Linked DNA regions of Homo sapiens: all the other regions are linked to region 2. The links are contacts of gene promoters, found by promoter capture Hi-C in blood cells and fetal thymus (Javierre and others, 2016). All regions are on one chromosome and are shown on one strand. Each heading gives the region's core, a stretch centred on a gene start or on the middle of the fragment in contact. The rest is flanking DNA. Distances are from core to core; before and after follow the strand shown. Region 1 overlaps NHEJ1 (non-homologous end joining factor 1). Region 2 holds the start of LINC00608 (long intergenic non-protein coding RNA 608). Region 3 overlaps NHEJ1 (non-homologous end joining factor 1).

What was found. The method cuts DNA at HindIII sites, captures the fragments that hold promoters and counts their contacts. A CHiCAGO score of 5 or more calls a contact.
Region 1: a contact is called between a fragment that was not itself captured here and the fragment with the promoter of LINC00608 in region 2, in 4 of 17 cell types (M2 macrophages, M0 macrophages, endothelial precursors and 1 more). The highest score is 7.1, in M2 macrophages.
Region 3: a contact is called between a fragment that was not itself captured here and the fragment with the promoter of LINC00608 in region 2, in 1 of 17 cell types (M2 macrophages). The highest score is 5.5, in M2 macrophages.

What each region holds. Positions count from the first base shown.
Region 1 is chr2:219,157,481-219,160,180 of GRCh38, forward strand. NHEJ1 (non-homologous end joining factor 1) reads right to left here. Exons shown (of 8, transcript NM_024782.3): 2 at 706-882; 3 at 1-204. The coding sequence starts at 882. Among named protein-coding and RNA genes, the nearest start is that of NHEJ1, 2.0 kb to the right of the region's middle. The HindIII fragment of the contact is 2,637 bases long and covers 1-2,569 here.
Region 2 is chr2:218,974,875-218,977,755 of GRCh38, forward strand. LINC00608 (long intergenic non-protein coding RNA 608) reads left to right here and starts at 1,410. Exons shown (of 2, transcript NR_024385.1): 1 at 1,410-2,524; 2 at 2,608-2,881. The HindIII fragment of the contact is 22,563 bases long and covers 774-2,881 here.
Region 3 is chr2:219,135,286-219,137,985 of GRCh38, forward strand. All of the region lies in intron 5 of NHEJ1 (non-homologous end joining factor 1), which reads right to left. Among named protein-coding and RNA genes, the nearest start is that of NHEJ1, 24 kb to the right of the region's middle. The HindIII fragment of the contact is 2,560 bases long and covers 1-2,545 here.

The sequences.
Region 1 (2,700 bases), core at 1-2,500, 180 kb after region 2:
ACTAGCTAGCATGCAGTGGAAATTCCAATAGAAGGGGAGGCCAGAGAGCTCACTTCGCACCCGTAGAATCAGTGCATCTGCCACACAATCACAGGAGAAGGTAGCTTCGCTAGGGTGAGCAGCGTCCTTCAACAATGGGCGAAGGAGATTATCCAAATGACAGAGGAAAGCTGCAGGAGGAGCAGTGAGCCGCTTGTTCAGCTCCTAAAGAGAGAGCAGTGGTACAGAGTAAGGGTGCTAAAAGGAAACTAATTCCCTCATAAGTAACAGCAAAGGAAAGCCCTGGTTAACACGAAGGCAATGGACATGAGAGGAAGGGGAGAGAAGATAAAAACATCACAAGGGGAAAGAAGAAAACAAAAAGAAGAGAGTCACAAAGACCAATTGGCCTACTTCACAATTCTGCCTTGGGCAAGATTAAATCACAAAAGGCCTATCTAGATCAAATAATATATTCATTATCATGCATAGGGTAGGGAAACTAACTTTCTTTCTCTCTCTCTCTCTCTCTCACACACACACACACACACACACACACACACACACACACACACACACAAAGATTCCAGGCAGAAGTACAGGTAGAAGTACAGGACATTAACTGGAATTGTCTCAACCCGATTCAACCTTCCTTGGGAAACTACAGGCCAGCAAGCTGGTTGATGTTCACATCCCCGACACAGCAGTACTTCTCCTCATACTTACCTTGGCTCGCTGGCTGACCACACTAGTGTCCACCTGTTCATGCCACACCTGTTGAAGATCTGAAACCAACAAGGCATAGCCCTGCTTGGTGATAAAAACCTTGGCCAAGAGGGAGTTCTCTGCAAGCTGTAGCCACGCCCATGGCTGCATCAACAGGCCTTGCTCCAGTTCTTCCATCTGCAAAAAAGTCCTCATTTAGTAAAGAGCCTCAGGGTCATGCTGGCCTAGGGAGGGCACCACCCAAACCAGTCTGTATCAACTAAAATCTCATGAAAATCCTCCCTGATAAAATAGAAGGCATGGATTTACGTTCTCCCAGTATACAACCAGCTGAGCACTGACTTTACTACCTCCTGGCCACTAAAAGTATATTTAAAATCTTGAGGGTTTTTTTTTTCCCATATTACATTCCTAGAGGACAGAAAATCTTTCTTCCATAGTGTTTAAACCTCAGCATATTGCTGTTAGTATTTCTGCTTTCTAATACTATAACATAACGTGGAAACCTAAACCCTTCTTGTTCCATCTTTATCACATTCCTAATAAATATGTCACTCCTATCCTTTCCCAGAACTAGAAGAGAAGGAATAGTTCTTGTCTTATAAAACATCATAAGTCATAGTGTCAGGGCCAGGAAATTCGAAGTATTTGATCATTATCTAAAAACAAAGTTTAGGAAGCTCTCAGGATTTTTTTAAAAATCCCTAAAACAGGTTCTTAATCTAGAGTCAATGCATGTGAATCCTCTAGAATTATATGAAAATGTTATGTGTACACGCATATATGCATGGGGAGGGGGAAGAGGTCTACAGCTATCATCAAACTCTCAGGGATCGATGACACAAAAAAGAGCTAAGAACCTGTGTCCAGGAGCAACAGAAAAGACCTAAATTTCATTTCAACAAAAACCAGAATGACTAGGAAATCATGAATACAAGGCAGAGCACATCACAGAGGTAAAGACTGAATTAACTTCCACTTAACTCATCCTCCACATTCCCACTCCAGTGCACTGCCACCAATGACAACATGCCCAGCCTGGAACCCCTGCAAAACAACTTTTCTATCTCAGCAGCTAAAGTAGTAGGCTTAACCTAGTAGACAATCAGAACTACGGCTGCTTGACAGAGAATGTGATTGTTTTTCCTGTGGGGGAGAAAAAAATATGTCAATTTCCTTCATTATTCCAGTCTACAAATATAAAATGAACAGAAGTACCAGGAAGGAAAAATTTAGAATGTAAATAATGAAATTCCTTATTAAGTCTGATTAACACAGTCATTTCCCCTAGCTTTTGAAGTGTGCCCTTGTGACTTGTGACATAACTTTATATATATATGCATATATATATGCATATATATATATGCATATATATATGCATATATATATGCATATATATATGCATATATATATATGCATATATATACATATACGTGGTGATCTTTCTTTATGGCATCCTCAAAGCCTTGTGTTTGGAGGATGGTGTTTCCGTCACATTTCCCACATGCTGCTCTTATGGGGACAGAAGTGGTCATGGGATGATTAAGCTAGTCCTAGCCGGACAAGAGCTCCACAATGCCAAAGGTCACAAACGCGAATAAAGTCGCCACTTTCATCTCCCTTATAGGCACTCCCCAGTGTACTCTTAACAGTTGCCAAAATTGGGTTTACTATTCTAGCCCATTCCTTCGGAAAGCCCGGAAGCTCAGAACCCTCAAATTGATGGGTTTTGTTTGTCTGTTGGGTAAAGGGGGAGGAGTTTAAAATGTGGCCAGGAGTAACGGGCCCTATAAAAAGGCCTGACACATTGGGCACCAGACCCCGGCTGCCTGCTCCCACCACACGCGTCCCGTTCTGCGTCCGAAGCTTCTACACTTCATCCTTTTCTTTTTTCCTTCAAGGCTGCCTCTAACATTCACATTAACGAGATTCACGGGTTTATTTCTCTTGAGTGGAGGGGCGCTGAGCGGCATCCCGGCGGAGGGGTCCCTTGAG
Region 2 (2,881 bases), core at 160-2,659:
GGATCATTTGAGTTCAGGAGTTCAAGACAAGCCTGGCCGACATGGTGAAAACCCATCTCTACTAAAAATACAAAAATTAGCTGGGCGTGGTGATGGGTGCCTGTAATCCCAGCTACATGGGAGGCTGAGGCAGGAGAATCACTTGAACCCAGGAGGTGGAAGTTGCTGAGAGCCAAGATTGCACTAGCCTGGACGACAGAGCAAGGCTCTGTCTCAAAAAAAAAAAAAAAAGAAAGAAAGAAAGAAATATTCATCCAGGCACAGTGTCTCATGCCTGTAATCCAAGCACTTTGGGAGGCCAAGGTGGGAGAATCATCTGTAGCCAGGAGTTTGACGCCAGCCAGGGCAACACAGTGAGACCCCTATCTCTACAAAAGCAAAATAAGATTAAAACAAGCTGGGCATGGTGGTGCATGCCTGTAGTCTCAGCTACATGGGAGGCTGAGATGGGAAGATCTCTTGAGCCCAGGAGTTCAAGGTTGCAGTAAGCTATGATCATGTCACTGTCCTCCAGCCTGGGCAACAGAGTGAGACTCTATCTCTAAACAAAGAAAACAAAAGAAATAGGAAACATCACAGTCAATGGGACATTGAACCATTCACCTCTATACATGACATGCGTCATCCCAAGATGGAGGAGTGTCATGGAGAAATCCTGCTGACCAAACAAAAGTAGGAAATGCCACTCAAGTCAATATATAATCAGAGCCCCACCCCACCTCAGAGTACAGTGATCTTCTCCAAGCCTGCAGCGCCTCAGTTAGGAAAGTGAAAGCTTGCAAAAGGCATTGGGGCAACAAAATAGTCTCTATTTCTTATCAGGGACAAAATGTACTTCCTTATCAAACAGAGACCTAACCAAGGACACTCATAAGGCAAGCTGTCAGTTTGTCCTTTATAACCAATTGTAGGCGGTGTGCACCTGTACTGGGCAAGCAGCAGGTCATGTTTACATGAGGAAGAAGCTATCCAGGAAGGCCAGTAAGAGGGGATCTAGTGGGATGGTAAGGATTTCAGTTGTCAGGTCATGGGCTGGCCCAGCCACTTCACTTCTCCAAGCCTTGGTTCCCTCATTTGAAAACAGAGATAACCATCCCCATCTGGTAAGGTTGTAGCCAGGTCAAAGGAAATACCACCTGTAAAACATTAGCATAGGGCAGAGCCTGGCAGAGTCATGTTCAATGAGTGGTAAGGCATACTTTTATCATCAGCAGATCCACTTGACATGGATTATAAATAGCTAAAGAAACAAGTTCATTTTGGTGCATTTCAAAGACATATTAAAGGAAAGGTGGAGGCCAGAAGAGCAGAAGGCTCTGAGAAAAGTGCATCACAGTGGCCCATTATGATGTCTGTCTATGGTCACGTGAGCTGGCATATGAGAGTGCTCTGTGAGCCTCAGTGCCTTCAGTGGCATCATTGCACTGTGACTGTGCAGGTCCCAAACAGTATGGACATGAATGTCCTCAAGCTGCATGTTAGCAGGGCTTCTAATTCCATCTGCAAGTGATAGTGTGTGGAGCTTAGTTGCACAGAGCGCATGTTACTGGAGGAGATATGGGTCTGTGTCATCCTGCATGGGAATGATCCTAAAAACAAAGTGATCAGTGACTGCTCAGGACTGTGGAAAGGTCACTTGGAGCAGTGGGAAAAGGTCTGGCAGAGGAATAAGAAGATACAGGTCTTAGAACAAGCCCTGGGACTTCAACCAAGTCATTTAACATCTGGGGCCTTCGTTTATTTATCCTCCCAGCAGATAAAGCAATACCTGCCCTGTCTTCCTAACCTTGGAGGGGTCAAAAAAGTGATGGGTGTGAAAGCATTTTGTAAACTGTAGTGCAAGCATACGGCAGGGGAGTGAACCATACTTTCACTAGCGACTTGAATGAGGTGATAAAGAAAAGGCTCAGAACTTCAGAAAATGCAAGAGGGGCTTGACCCTGGATTGGCAGAGGAAAGCAATGGTGGGATCGATACCTTGGAGAGCCAAGGACCAAGGGGTTAAGGGTCCATGAGGACAGGCCTGGATCATCAGGAAGCTGAGTGTGGTAAGACTGTGGCTTCTTCAGGGATTGGGTGGAGTACAGTCCTGCCAAGACCACAGTAACTCAGGGCTTGGAGACATCACAAAGGCAGGGGCTCCTAGAGCTGAGATAATCTGGAGAAGAGGATACCCATCTACTGCATTCTGAGATTGGGTTCGACCTGTAGGTCATCTTGGATAGACGTTTTCCAGCTCTTCTTTTTTTTTTTTTTTGGAACAGAGAGAACCTAATTGACCCTTAAAGTTCCACAGAGCAGAGTTTGCAAATCTCTGGTTCAGCCTTATTATTTAAATGAGAGGAGAATGAAATCCCAGAAAAGAGATGTGATTATGTGAAGGTCACACAGCAAGTTAGTTGCCAAGCTGCAACTGGAACTCAGAATTTCTGGTTCCCAGTTCTATATCTTAGCCTCCCAAACTGGCTATGTGGACAGGAAAGAACAGAGTAATGGGGTGAGCTTTAAGGATGCAATTTCATAGGTAAGAAGATCCCTTAATCTAACAATATCTCCCCCAGCTCCCCAACAATGACTAAAATCCCCCCTTTATTGACTCCTTCACAGGATTCCAAGAGTCTCAAGGTTAGAGAAGTCGCCTAGTCCACCTCCCCTCTCTGCTTCTCACAGAAGGGTCTGCTGAACACTCTGGTGACAGAGAACTCACCCAACATGTTCCATGGCAGAGGCTTTTCATTAGATCAAGGTGACATCTGTTTTACTGGAGCTTCCAACCACGTGTCCCAATACTGCCCTTAGTCACAGGCATCCAGGTCCTCTCTCTCAGGACAGCACTTTGAATAAATGAGGACAGCTCCCATCCCCCTTTCTCCCAGTTGAC
Region 3 (2,700 bases), core at 16-2,515, 160 kb after region 2:
CCCAAAAGGGCTAGGTATTTGTCAGAAGTAAGACATCAAGGCCGGGCACAGTGGCTCACGCCTGTAATCCCAGCACTTTGGGAGGCCGAGGTGGGTGGATCACTCAAGGTCAGGAGTTTGAGACCAGCCTGGCCAACACGGTGAAACCTTGTCTCTACTAAAAATACAAAAAAATTAGCCAGGCGTGGTGGCAGGTGCCTGTAATCTTAGTAATTCAGGAGGCTGAGGCAGGAGAATTGCTTGAACCCAGGAGGCAGAGGTTGCAGTGAGCCGAGATCACCCCACTGCACTCCAGCCTACAGGACAGAGTGAGATTCCGTCTCAAAAGTAAAGAAGTAAGACATCAAACATCATCACTGCCTCACAAATCAAATCTGAACCAAATGGATTTCTTAGACTGGAGATTTAAAGCAAGTAAGTGTGGCTCATGCCTGTAATCCCAGCACTTTGGGAGGCTGTGGCAGGCAAATTGCTTGAGCCCAGGAGTTCAAGACCAGCCCTCGGCTACATAGTGAGATCCTGTCTCTTTTAGAAAACAAATAAATAAATAAATAAACCAAATGAGAGACTAATGGTGGATTTGATGGAGCAAAACAGAGGAAAAAATAGTTTTCACTTTGGCAGAGTTGGTAACTTCCTTTGAGTAAAGTAAGATATACAACCCCCTGGAGCGCAGTCTGTTAAACTGTGCTAGCCTATCCAGGTCTAGATACAGGGACATGCATGATTTCGTTTTCCACAGGCCCCTACAACTCTCTGTTGTCTTCTATCCAGCCTGATATACATGTTTATGTAATATGACTGGCCCCTGCAGATATCTGATTTTGTAATATCTGGTTTTGAGATTTTTTAGGATAAGAGAATTTGAGATATGGGAAACTCCTTTGCTATTGGGATTCTTAGAATCAGAAACCCAAAATGGATAATTTTTACCCCCTTTGTATTCTTTCTTTCTTTTTCTGAGACAGTGTCTTTCTCATAATGTATTCCCACTTGGTTTCTTTTTTTTTTTTTTTTTTTAGAGACAAGGTCTCGCTTTGTCGCTCAGGCTGGAGTGCAGTGATGCAATCTTGGCTGACTGCAACCTCAGCCTCCAGAGTTCAAGTGATTCTCCTGCCTCAGTCTCCCAAGTAGCTGGGATCACAAGCCTGTGCCACCAAGCCCGGCTAATTTTTGTATTTTTAGTAGAGATGGAGTTTCGCCATGTTAGCCAGGCTGGTCTCGAACTCCTGACCTCTGGTGATCCACCCACCTCAGCCTCCCAAACTGTTGGGATTATAGGCGTGAGCCACCACACGTAGCCCCTACTTGGTTTCTTTATTTGTTTGTTTCTTTGAGATGGAGTCTTGCTCTGTTGCCCAGGCTGGAGTGCAGTGGCACAATCTCGGCTCACTGCAACCTCTGCCTCCGAGATTCAAGCGATTCTCCTGCTTCAGCCTCCTGAGTAGCTGGGATTACAGGCACCCACCATTGCACCCAGCTAGTTTTCTTATCTTTAGTAGAGATGGGGTTTCGCCATGTTGGCCAGGCTGATCTCAAACTCCCGACCTCAACTGATCTGCCCGCCTCAGCCTCCCAAAGTGCTGGGATTACAGACCTGAGCCACCGCACCTGGCCCCATTTGTATTTTCTATATTGATTTCCTTTTTTTTCTCTCTCAAAATTTTAACAATTTTTTTAAAAAATTACTTTAAAATTTTTAATAAATTTCCTTTTGAAAACATAAGCCCTTATAAGCCTTTGCAAAAGGAAAATAAAGAAAGAGGTCTTTTTAGCTCTTCTTGAGAAAAAAAAAAAAAAAAAGAAGTGGTAACCCCTGGTTACTACAGGATTCACAGTGAGAAAACCCCAAAGAGAAGGTGAAATTCAGAAAAAACAAAATATAGTTGAGAAACATGCACAGCCATACCTTCCTCCCTGGAGATTTTCATTCCAGAGCTCAAATACTGGTACATTCATATTTTCAGTAAGGAAAACAATTCTTTTATATGCCCACGGTTAAACCGACCCCACCCATGATCTTCCTAGTCTATCAATGGCATCACTATTCTTCAAATCACATAAGCATATGACCAAGAGCCTAATATTCCTAAAGATCACCTTCATATGTCAATTCTCCAGTCAAAACTTTCAATGGCTTCCCACTATCTGCAACAGTAATTAATAAGTGCAAGGAGAATGTGCCCCATCTCCCTCCTAGGAGATGTGTCCCCACTTGAGAATCACAGCACATAATGACAGTCGTTAACAATTGAACTAAATGGAGAAATAAATGTGTTACAGGCAAAAAAAAAAAAAAAAAAAAAACAAAAAAAACTGAAAACCACCTTCAGAATAAAACACTAATCTGCCAGCCCAACATTTAAGGCCCCCACAATTTAGCCTCAAGTTATTATCTTGCTAACTTTATTTTCTACTAATCCTCATCCATTCTTATTCTTATTTTCCATCCTTTGCCCAAGTGCTTCCCACCTAAAATGTCTTCCACATAGTTTTCAATCAAAGCCTAAATCAAAGCCCAGTTCACGTCCTGCCATTTATAGAAAGCTTTTTCTAATCACTCCACTACTATGGCCCTTATTATCATTCACTAAGCACTATAAGCTCTTTGATGGCAATATTATCATACCTTATATGCTCACAGAACCTCATTCAGCCCGCATGCACCTGACCGAATACCGAAAGGATGAATTAACTGCA